2 separate regions of the Homo sapiens genome follow, and region 1 is linked to region 2. Evidence: promoter capture Hi-C in 16 types of primary human blood cells and fetal thymus (Javierre and others, 2016). All regions are on one chromosome and are shown on one strand. The core of a region is centred on a gene start or on the middle of the fragment in contact, and the rest is flanking DNA. Distances in the headings are between cores, read along the strand shown.

Region 1 (4,227 bases), core at 344-2,843, 100 kb after region 2:
AATTTTTTTTGTATTTTTAGTAGAGATGTTTCATCATGTTGGTCAGGCTGGTCTCGAACTCCTGACCTCAGGTGATCCAGCTGCCTCGGCCTCCCAAAGTGCTGGGATTACAGGTGTGAGCCACCGCGCCCACCGCCAGTTGAATTTTAGTTGTGGCGCCAACGCTCTTTTAAGCCTGTAGTCTGGCTGATGATGAAGCTCGCGTGCTTTCATTTTGCCTTTTGTGTCCGGCTCCTCTAGAGCGTCAGCTCCATGGAGGCAGGGACCATGATGTCCCCAGGGCCACGATGTCCCCAGGGCCTGGTGTGCAGCAGGAGCCAGCGGAACGACCACCCCTGCTTCTGGGCCACTCGCAAGAAGAGAGGTGCCGGCAGGAAAGGGAGAATCCGGATGGCGGGAGTCTGCCACGGATGGCTGATGCGGCGCCAGGGAGCAGGGCCGCCATCCAGGGCCCTAAAGTGGCCCATGACAGGCCCAGGTCGGGGAGCGGAAGAGGGTTCCAGGGCGCCCGAAGGACCTGGACTGAAACCCAGCATCCAGCAGAGCAGGCGGGAAAGGGGAGCTACCGTGGCGGGTGCTGATCCCTGCAGGCTCCGAGGACACAGGAAGCTCAGCTCTCCATCAGAGACGCCAAACAGGGCGGCGGTGGCTGGGATTTGGGGAGGGGTCCTCGGAGCACTCCAGGGCCCAGGCAGGAAGCAGCGGCCAGGACACAGCCGTGGGCAAGAGGCTTGGAGGGTCCGGTGGGAGTGAAACTGTCCTCGCTGGGACACAGCAAGAAGGTTGAAGGTATGGTGGGGTGGGGCTGTCCTCGCCGGCCCTTTCCCGGCCCCGGGGTGAGTTGAATAAAAGCTCAGATTTGAAGGCTTTTCTGCATTGCCTCCCTTAATGGGCTTAATGTCTCGGCTGAGCTCTAATGCCAGTCATTTTACCTCCCACGCATAGATTTCAGAAAAGAAAGCTTACAATGACCCTAGTCCGCTTTAGCAGAGAAAATAAAATAGTAGAAAAATAATAGTAAAAATGACTGTGTAACGTTCGTCACTTTTATTTTTGTATCTGTAAATGCAAGGATGCTTACAGTTTTTTTTGCTTACAGTTTTTTTCTCCCCTATCTGCCTGAATTTTTAACAATGCAAGAGATTAGGATTAATTTCCAAATAGCGCAACCTTTTTGGAAATGCACATTCTCCACAAATGAACAAACTGCTTGTGGTAATTAAAGTAATGTCGTGTGCTCAAATTGCTTGTGCTAATGAGGCTAATTGACAGCAGCGAGTATTAACCGCAATTAGTCATACATATCTAATAGCATCGCTGGTGCCTATGATTTTCTACGTGGAGGGGATTTTACATCTGCTTTCAGGATTTCCATCCTTGGCTATATGCATTTCTCTCAAAAGGATGCGCTTTTTCCTGGCATTCAGTAGTCGGGTGCTCTTTTCAAAGGTGAGAACAGAGTTGCTGGGGTAGAACATTTTAGGTGGGCTGATTTTTAAAGGATGTGGCAGCTTATCAACAGGGATAAATGCTGATGTCATGGAAGAACTGGGGTCAGAACTCAGAGGGGGGGCTCCACTGGAGAAATACCACGATAGAAAAAGAAAGACCCTAAAATCCAAAATGCTTTTTAAAAGGAAGCAAAAGCTGAGCACGGTGGGTCACACCTGTAATCCCAGCACTTTGGGAGGCCGAGGGGGGTGGATCACTTGAGGTCAGGAGTTCAAGACCAGCCGGGCCAACACGGTGAAACCCCATCTCTACTGAAAACACAAAATTAGCCAGGCGTGGTGGTGTGCACCTGTAACCCAGCTACTCAGGAGGCTGAGGCAGGAGAATCACTTGAACCTGGGAGGCAGAGGTTGTAGTGAGCCGAGATCGCACCACTGTACTCCAGCCTGGGCGACAGTGTGAGACTGTCTCAAAAATAAATAAATAAATTAATTAAAGCAAAACAATCAAATATATACCTTTTTATGGCACTAGAAATTCTATGAAAATAAAATATTTTAAATCCCCATCAAGGAAGCCACTCATCTGGGTGCTTTCTCTGTGTATCTTCTCTCCATCCAGGAGCAGAGGAAGCCCTTGGGGGCAGGGGCAGGGTCTGGCTGAATTATGTGAAACAAAACCTGGGTGCTTAATTTCATTCCTGAGAAAGGACGTTGGCAAAAGTTCATGGGACTGATGGGGCTGAGAAGTCAGATCCCCTGAAATAAAGCTTTTCATAGTGATCCCTCAGCCCCAGGGACCCAGAAGCAGAGGTGTGGGTTCTCAGAGAGAAAACTTCAGTTTCCCTCTTGGTTTAAAAAGAACATGTCAGGAGGGCCGGGCGTGTTGGCTCATACCTATAATCTCAGCAATTTGGGAGGCCAAGGTGCATGGATCACTTGAGGTCAGGAGTTAGGGACCAGCCTGGCCAACATGGTGAAACCCCATCTCTACTAAAAATACAAAAATTAGCCGGGCATGGTGGTGTGTGCCTGTAATCCCAGCTACTTGGAAGGCTGAGGCATGAGAATTGCTTGAATTCAGGAGGCAGGGGCTGAAGTGAGCCAAGATGGGGCCACGGCACTCCAACCTAGGTGACAAAGCAAGACTTTGTCTCCAGAAAAAAAAAAACAAAGAATATGTCAGGAGGCAAGCAGAAAGGAGGGTCACGAGTGGGGCACATAGCAGAGATTCTTTGGAGGAATCTAATTTCAGGGCAATTGGCCCCAACTTATCTCCAAAGCAGAGTTGGAACGGACTCTTTCTCACTACCACTGGTACCTGCCCAAATCTCCTAGACCAGCCTAGTACACCCTAGCCCCCAGCTGCTGTGAACATTGGCTGTTAACCTCTCACTGCTTTCCCCTCAATACAGAAGTGCCCTCAGCTGACGGAAATCACAGCCAATGATGACCTGATGCAGGCAATTAAAGGCCAGCCCTTTGCCTCAGCACGCTCCTAACCCCACAGTCATGGCCATGGCGCCACAGTCTTCCAAGCTCAAGGTGGGAGAATACAGAGGACAAGGCTGGCAGAGGAGCTGGAAATGTAGGGAAGAAATCCTGAAACAAGAGAGCTGTAGAAGGGGTGAGACCCAAATCTGAGTCTAAACTCTGCCCCAATCCTTGGATGGCCATCAAACTACAAACACGTATCAGAGACTTGAGGAAGCTTGGTGAAAAATGAGGGAGATATGAGAGAGGAGTCTACCCTGAAAGATATAAGAGGACTAGGTGATATTCGTGAGTTTTCTGCTCCTTTGAGTGCATGTATTCCCCAAATCATGCACAGCATGCATGGCAGAAAGTTGAATCCTTATTGGTTTGAGGTGTCAGAAGACAAAGTGTAGGGCTGGCTGAGCAGCTGGAAAATTAAGGGTGAACCCCCAAAGCAAGGGAACTACAGAGAGGGTGAGCTGCCAAATCTGAACATAAACTCTGCTCAAATCCTTGGCTAAATATTGAGCATACGGGTGCAAAGGGTTGGCTACAAAGACTACAGCTGGAAGTTGAAAAGCTGAGCAGAGACATCAGCCACTACACACTGTGGAGGAGGCAGACTCTACAGTTTCAGATCAAGCAAGTTAACTGCCTACTGGAACAAAACCCAACAATCTTCAGAAGAACATAACAGAATCCAAAGTTGCTACAAAATACTACCTACAATGTCCAGTTACCAACAAAAAATAACTAGACATACAAAGAAACAAGAATGTATGATCCATATTTAGGAAAAAGACAGTGAATAGAAGTGGATTCTGAATGGACCCAAAGGTTAGATTTCATAGACAAAGACTTCAAAGCTGCTATTTTAAATATGATCAGATAATTAAAGTAAAATATAGTCTTAATGAATAAACAGAGGGGAACCTCAACAAAGAAATGGAAGCTACAAAAAAGAATCAAATGGAAATTCTTCAAGCTGAAAATTAAAACAACAGAAATAAAAATTTCACTGGATAGGCTCAATAGCTTATTGGAGACAGTAGGAGAAAAAATCCATGACCTTGAAGATAGGTCAATAAAATGTATTTAATGCAAAGAACATAGAGAAAAAAGACTTCATTTTTTACCAAGAAAAAGAAATATATCCTGAGAGACCCACAAGACTGTATCAAGCAGTCCAACATGCATGTAATTGGAATCCCAGAAGGAGAGGAGAGAAGAAAAGAAAGGAAAAATACATATATTTGATGAAATAATGGCTTAAAATTTCCCAGATTTGATTAAAAACATT
Region 2 (4,044 bases), core at 899-3,398:
GATTTTAAGTGTTCTGAGGCAACTAAGAGGATCATTGGGAGGGGGTGGTAGCTGGCAGGGAGGTTGACCCACTTAGAGTGGGTTGAGCTGAGACCTGAGAGACTCGACGGAGCCAGCCCGGCCAGTGCAGCAGGGCAGCAAGCATCTAGGAGCAGCAGGTGCAGAGCCTCCAGGCTTGATTGCAACCCGTGGGTGACCCCCACAGGTGGCTGTGTATGCCTGGCATGATGCTACTCAGTAGACGTCTGATTCTGATTAGTAAACGAATGAACGGTGCAACCTTGTGGGTTACTCTCTCGCTTGGGCCACTCAAGCTATGCATAATTCTTGGGCTCTTCGATTTATTATTTTTATTATTTTTTCTGCTTCTGTGAGTGTTTTTTGTTGTTGTTGTTTTTGTTTGTTTGATTTTTGAGATGGAGTTTCAATCTTTTTGCCCAGGCTAAAGTACAATGGTGCAATCTCAGCTCACTGCAACCTCCGCCTCCCAGGTTCAAGCAATTCTCCTGCCTCAGCCTCACAAATAGCTGGGATTGCAGGTGTGCACCACCATGCCTAGCTAATTTTGTATTTTTAGTAGAGACAGGGTTTCACCATGTTAGTCAGGCTGGTCTTGAACTCCTGACTTTAAGTGATCTGACCACCTTGGCCTCCCAGAGTGCTGGGATTACAGGCATGAGCCACCACGCCCAGCCCCAGGCAAAATTTTCTTGATTTTTGAATGTTAAATGTACAACTAAATAGTACACGGTGTTGCTGTGCCTTGGGTACTACCCTTTAAAAATTTAGAAAAGTATTTAATTTTTAAAAGTGAGATTAGAAAGCTGATGTTTTACATTCTTTATTTTTACCAAAACAGTACCTGAGTAGACAGTACCTGAGGCTGTCTCCCCAGCACCCACTCCCACCAGTCCCTCTACACCCTTTGCAGTTTTCGCCATCACTTGAATTAAACTTTCACCTCCTCTTGATTAAACAGTGATATCTATTGACTCCTTAAAGATGAAATAGCTCATTCCCCACCCAAAATTTGAGACTTTCATTGTATTTGTGAGTTTTTTTTTTTTTTTCTGAGAGGGAGCCTTTCTCTGTTGGTCAGGCTGGAGTACAGTGACACAATCTCAGCTCACTGCAACCCCCATCTCCCAGGTTCAAGCCTCAGCCTTCTATGTAGCTGGGACTACAGGCGTGCGCCACTACGCCCAGCTAGTTTTTGTATTTTTTAGTAGAGACGGAGTTTCACTATATGTTGGCCAGGCTGGTCTCGAACTCCTGACCTCAGGTGATCCACCCGCCTCGGCCTCCCAAAGTGCTGGGATTACAGACGTGAGCCACCACGCCCAGCCGTATTTGTTACTTCTATTTCGGGACCAACTCCATCAGTTGCACCTGTAAGCTGCGTCACCAAGGACCGGGAGTGGGTGCAAGGCTGGGAACGTGCGGTGCAAGCCCCTGCCCTCTGTCCACCCGCAGCGTCCCAGGCCGGGATCTGTCTTGAGAGCTCGAGTGTAGAAAAATGTTTTATTTTATTTTATTTATTTTTTTGAGACGGAGTCTAGCTCTGTGGCACAGGCTGGAGTGCAGTGGCGGGATCTCGGCTCACTGCAACCTCCACCTCCCGGGCTCAAGCGATTCTCCTGCCTCAGCCTTCCAAGTAGCTGGGATTACAGGCGCGTGCCACCACGGCCAGCTAATTTTTGTATTTTTAGTAGAGACGGGGTTTCACCATGTTGCCCAGGCTGGTTTTGAACTCCTGACCTCAAGTAATCCGCCTGCCTCGGCCTCCCAAAGTGCTGGGACTACAGGCGTGAGCAACCACGCCTGGCCAGAAAAATATAACTGAAGCCCAAGGTCAGAAGCCAAGCTAGGCAGTCCCACTTAGCGCTGCCCGAGTTGATGGGGACCTCAGTTTCCCCACCTGAGCCTGGATCGGCTGAACCTGGGAGTGCCTCCCCTGACCCGCTCTGGCAACAGCGGCAGTCCAGGCCCCGCCCCTCGCGACTCTGTCTCCTCCCGCCCCAGACCACGCCCACCACACCTCCCTGGCCCCGCCTTTACCTCCCCGCCCCGACCTCGACTCCGCCCCACGCCCAGGCCCCGCCCACTGCCCGGGCGCCTCTTCCCCTCCCCCCAGGTTCCTGTCCCTCACCCTTCCCCCTTCTCCAACCGCCAACGGCCGCCTGCGCCTGAGGCCCGGCCCACGCCCCATCCCGCTCGCTCCACGCTGCGGCAGCCCCGGCGGCCCCAGGTGCGTCCCTCCGAGGAGGAATGACGGGGCGGTCCCCGGGCTGGGCCTCGGCTCTGCAGGCGGGGATGGGGGCTGCCGGGCCGGGTCGGGCCCCTGCGGGTGGGCGGAGGGCGGCGGGCCGTGGGCGAGGCCGCCCCTCACCTGGTCGCACCTCACCTGGCCCCCCCTCCCCTGGCTGCTCCTCACCTGACCCCCTCCTCGGCCGCCCCTCACCTGGCCCCCTCCCCTGGGCGCCCCTCACCTGACCCCCACCCCGGCCGGCCCCTCTCCTGGCCGCCCCTTACCTGGTCGCCCCTCCCCTGACTCCCTCCCCTGGTCGCTCCTCACCTGGCCGCCCCTCACCTGGCCCCCTCCCCTGGCCGCCCCTCCCCTGGTCGCCCCTCCCGTGACCCCCTCCCCGGCCGCCCCTCCCCTGGTCGCCGCTCACCTGACCGCCTCCCCTGGTCGCTCCTCACCTGGCCGCCCCTCACCTGGCCGCCCCTCACCTAATCGCCCCTCATCTGGTCGCCCCTCCCCTGACCCCCTCACCTGGTCGCCCTTCCCCGGGCCCCTCACCTGGCCCTCCCTCACCAGGCCGCCCCCTCCCCTAGCCGCCCCTCACCTGGTCCCCTCCCCTGGCCGCCCCTCCCTTGGCTGCCCCTCCCTTGGCTGTCCCCTTTCCTGGCCGCCCCTCCCCTCGTCCTCTCCTCTGGCTGCCTCTCACCTGGCCGCGTGTTGCAGGTGCGCGGCCCCCGCCATCCCGCCCCGCCGCCCTGCGCCATGGAGGAGGGCCCTCTGCCGGGCGGGCTGCCCAGCCCCGAGGATGCGATGGTGACGGAGCTCTTAAGCCCCGAGGGTCCGTTCGCTTCGGAGAACATCGGCCTGAAGGCCCCCGTGAAGTACGAGGAGGACGAGTTCCACGTCTTCAAAGAAGCGTACCTGGGCCCGGCGGACCCCAAGGAACCCGTCCTGCACGCGTTCAACCCCGCGCTGGGCGCCGACTGCAAGGGCCAGGTCAAGGCGAAGCTCGCGGGGGGCGACAGCGACGGCGGGGAGCTCCTCGGGGAGTACCCCGGGATCCCAGAGCTCAGCGCGCTGGAGGACGTCGCGCTCCTGCAGGCCCCGCAGCCGCCCGCCTGCAACGTGCACTTCCTGTCCTCGCTGCTACCCGCGCACCGCAGCCCGGCGGTGTTGCCCCTGGGCGCCTGGGTCCTGGAAGGAGCCTCCCACCCGGGCGTCCGCATGATCCCAGTAAGAACCGCCTGGGGAATGGGCACAGCTCCCCCTCCATCCCTTCCCCAACCCATCTGAGGCTGCTAGTGTACCCCAGGATTTCCCTCTACAAGCATTTTCCCTGGTGACACCACACACAGCCCACCGGAGTCACTGATTCTCGGTAGAGCGTATACTCTTTGTCGTCTTCCTAATCCAACATGCATCGGCCCAGCCAAGCCCTTTCCCCTGGAGGGAATTCTGCCCTGCACCAGTCGTCCAAAGCTGACCTAACCATGCAGACGGCGGACAACAAAAAAAGGGGGAAAGCTAGGACGTAGGTTCCCTTGGGCCCTGTTGCTATCCTTGGCTTAAGGAGAGAGGCCCGCTGTCTGCTGGTAACTATTGTCTGTGAAAACAAACGCAATGTGGTGGAGGGTTGGCGTGTTTGCATCTTGCATTTTTTTTTTCCTTTAACTTTACCAGGCTTGGAATCCACAGCAAGGACTCAGAGTTAATACTTGGATTTTCCGGGCCTTGAAGTCAAGATGTGAGATCTTCCCTTTGCTAATGAGTAATAGCTCTTCAAGCATATGCAATGTAAA

What was found. Contacts are between HindIII fragments. The CHiCAGO score rates a contact against its expected background, and 5 or more counts as called.
Region 1: a fragment that was not itself captured here is called in contact with the fragment with the promoter of TESMIN in region 2 in 1 of 17 cell types (endothelial precursors); the score reaches 5.8 in endothelial precursors.

Annotation. Positions count from the first base shown.
Region 1 is chr11:68,646,445-68,650,671 of GRCh38, reverse strand. No RefSeq gene overlaps it. Among named protein-coding and RNA genes, the nearest start is that of GAL, 36 kb to the left of the region's middle. The HindIII fragment of the contact is 1,260 bases long and covers 964-2,223 here.
Region 2 is chr11:68,749,624-68,753,667 of GRCh38, reverse strand. It overlaps TESMIN (testis expressed metallothionein like protein), which reads left to right and starts at 2,148. Exons shown (of 10, transcript NM_004923.3): 1 at 2,148-2,248; 2 at 2,969-3,478. The coding sequence starts at 3,008. RefSeq lists silencers at 1,916-2,035, 2,046-2,335 and an enhancer at 2,036-3,021. The HindIII fragment of the contact is 16,735 bases long and covers 1-4,044 here.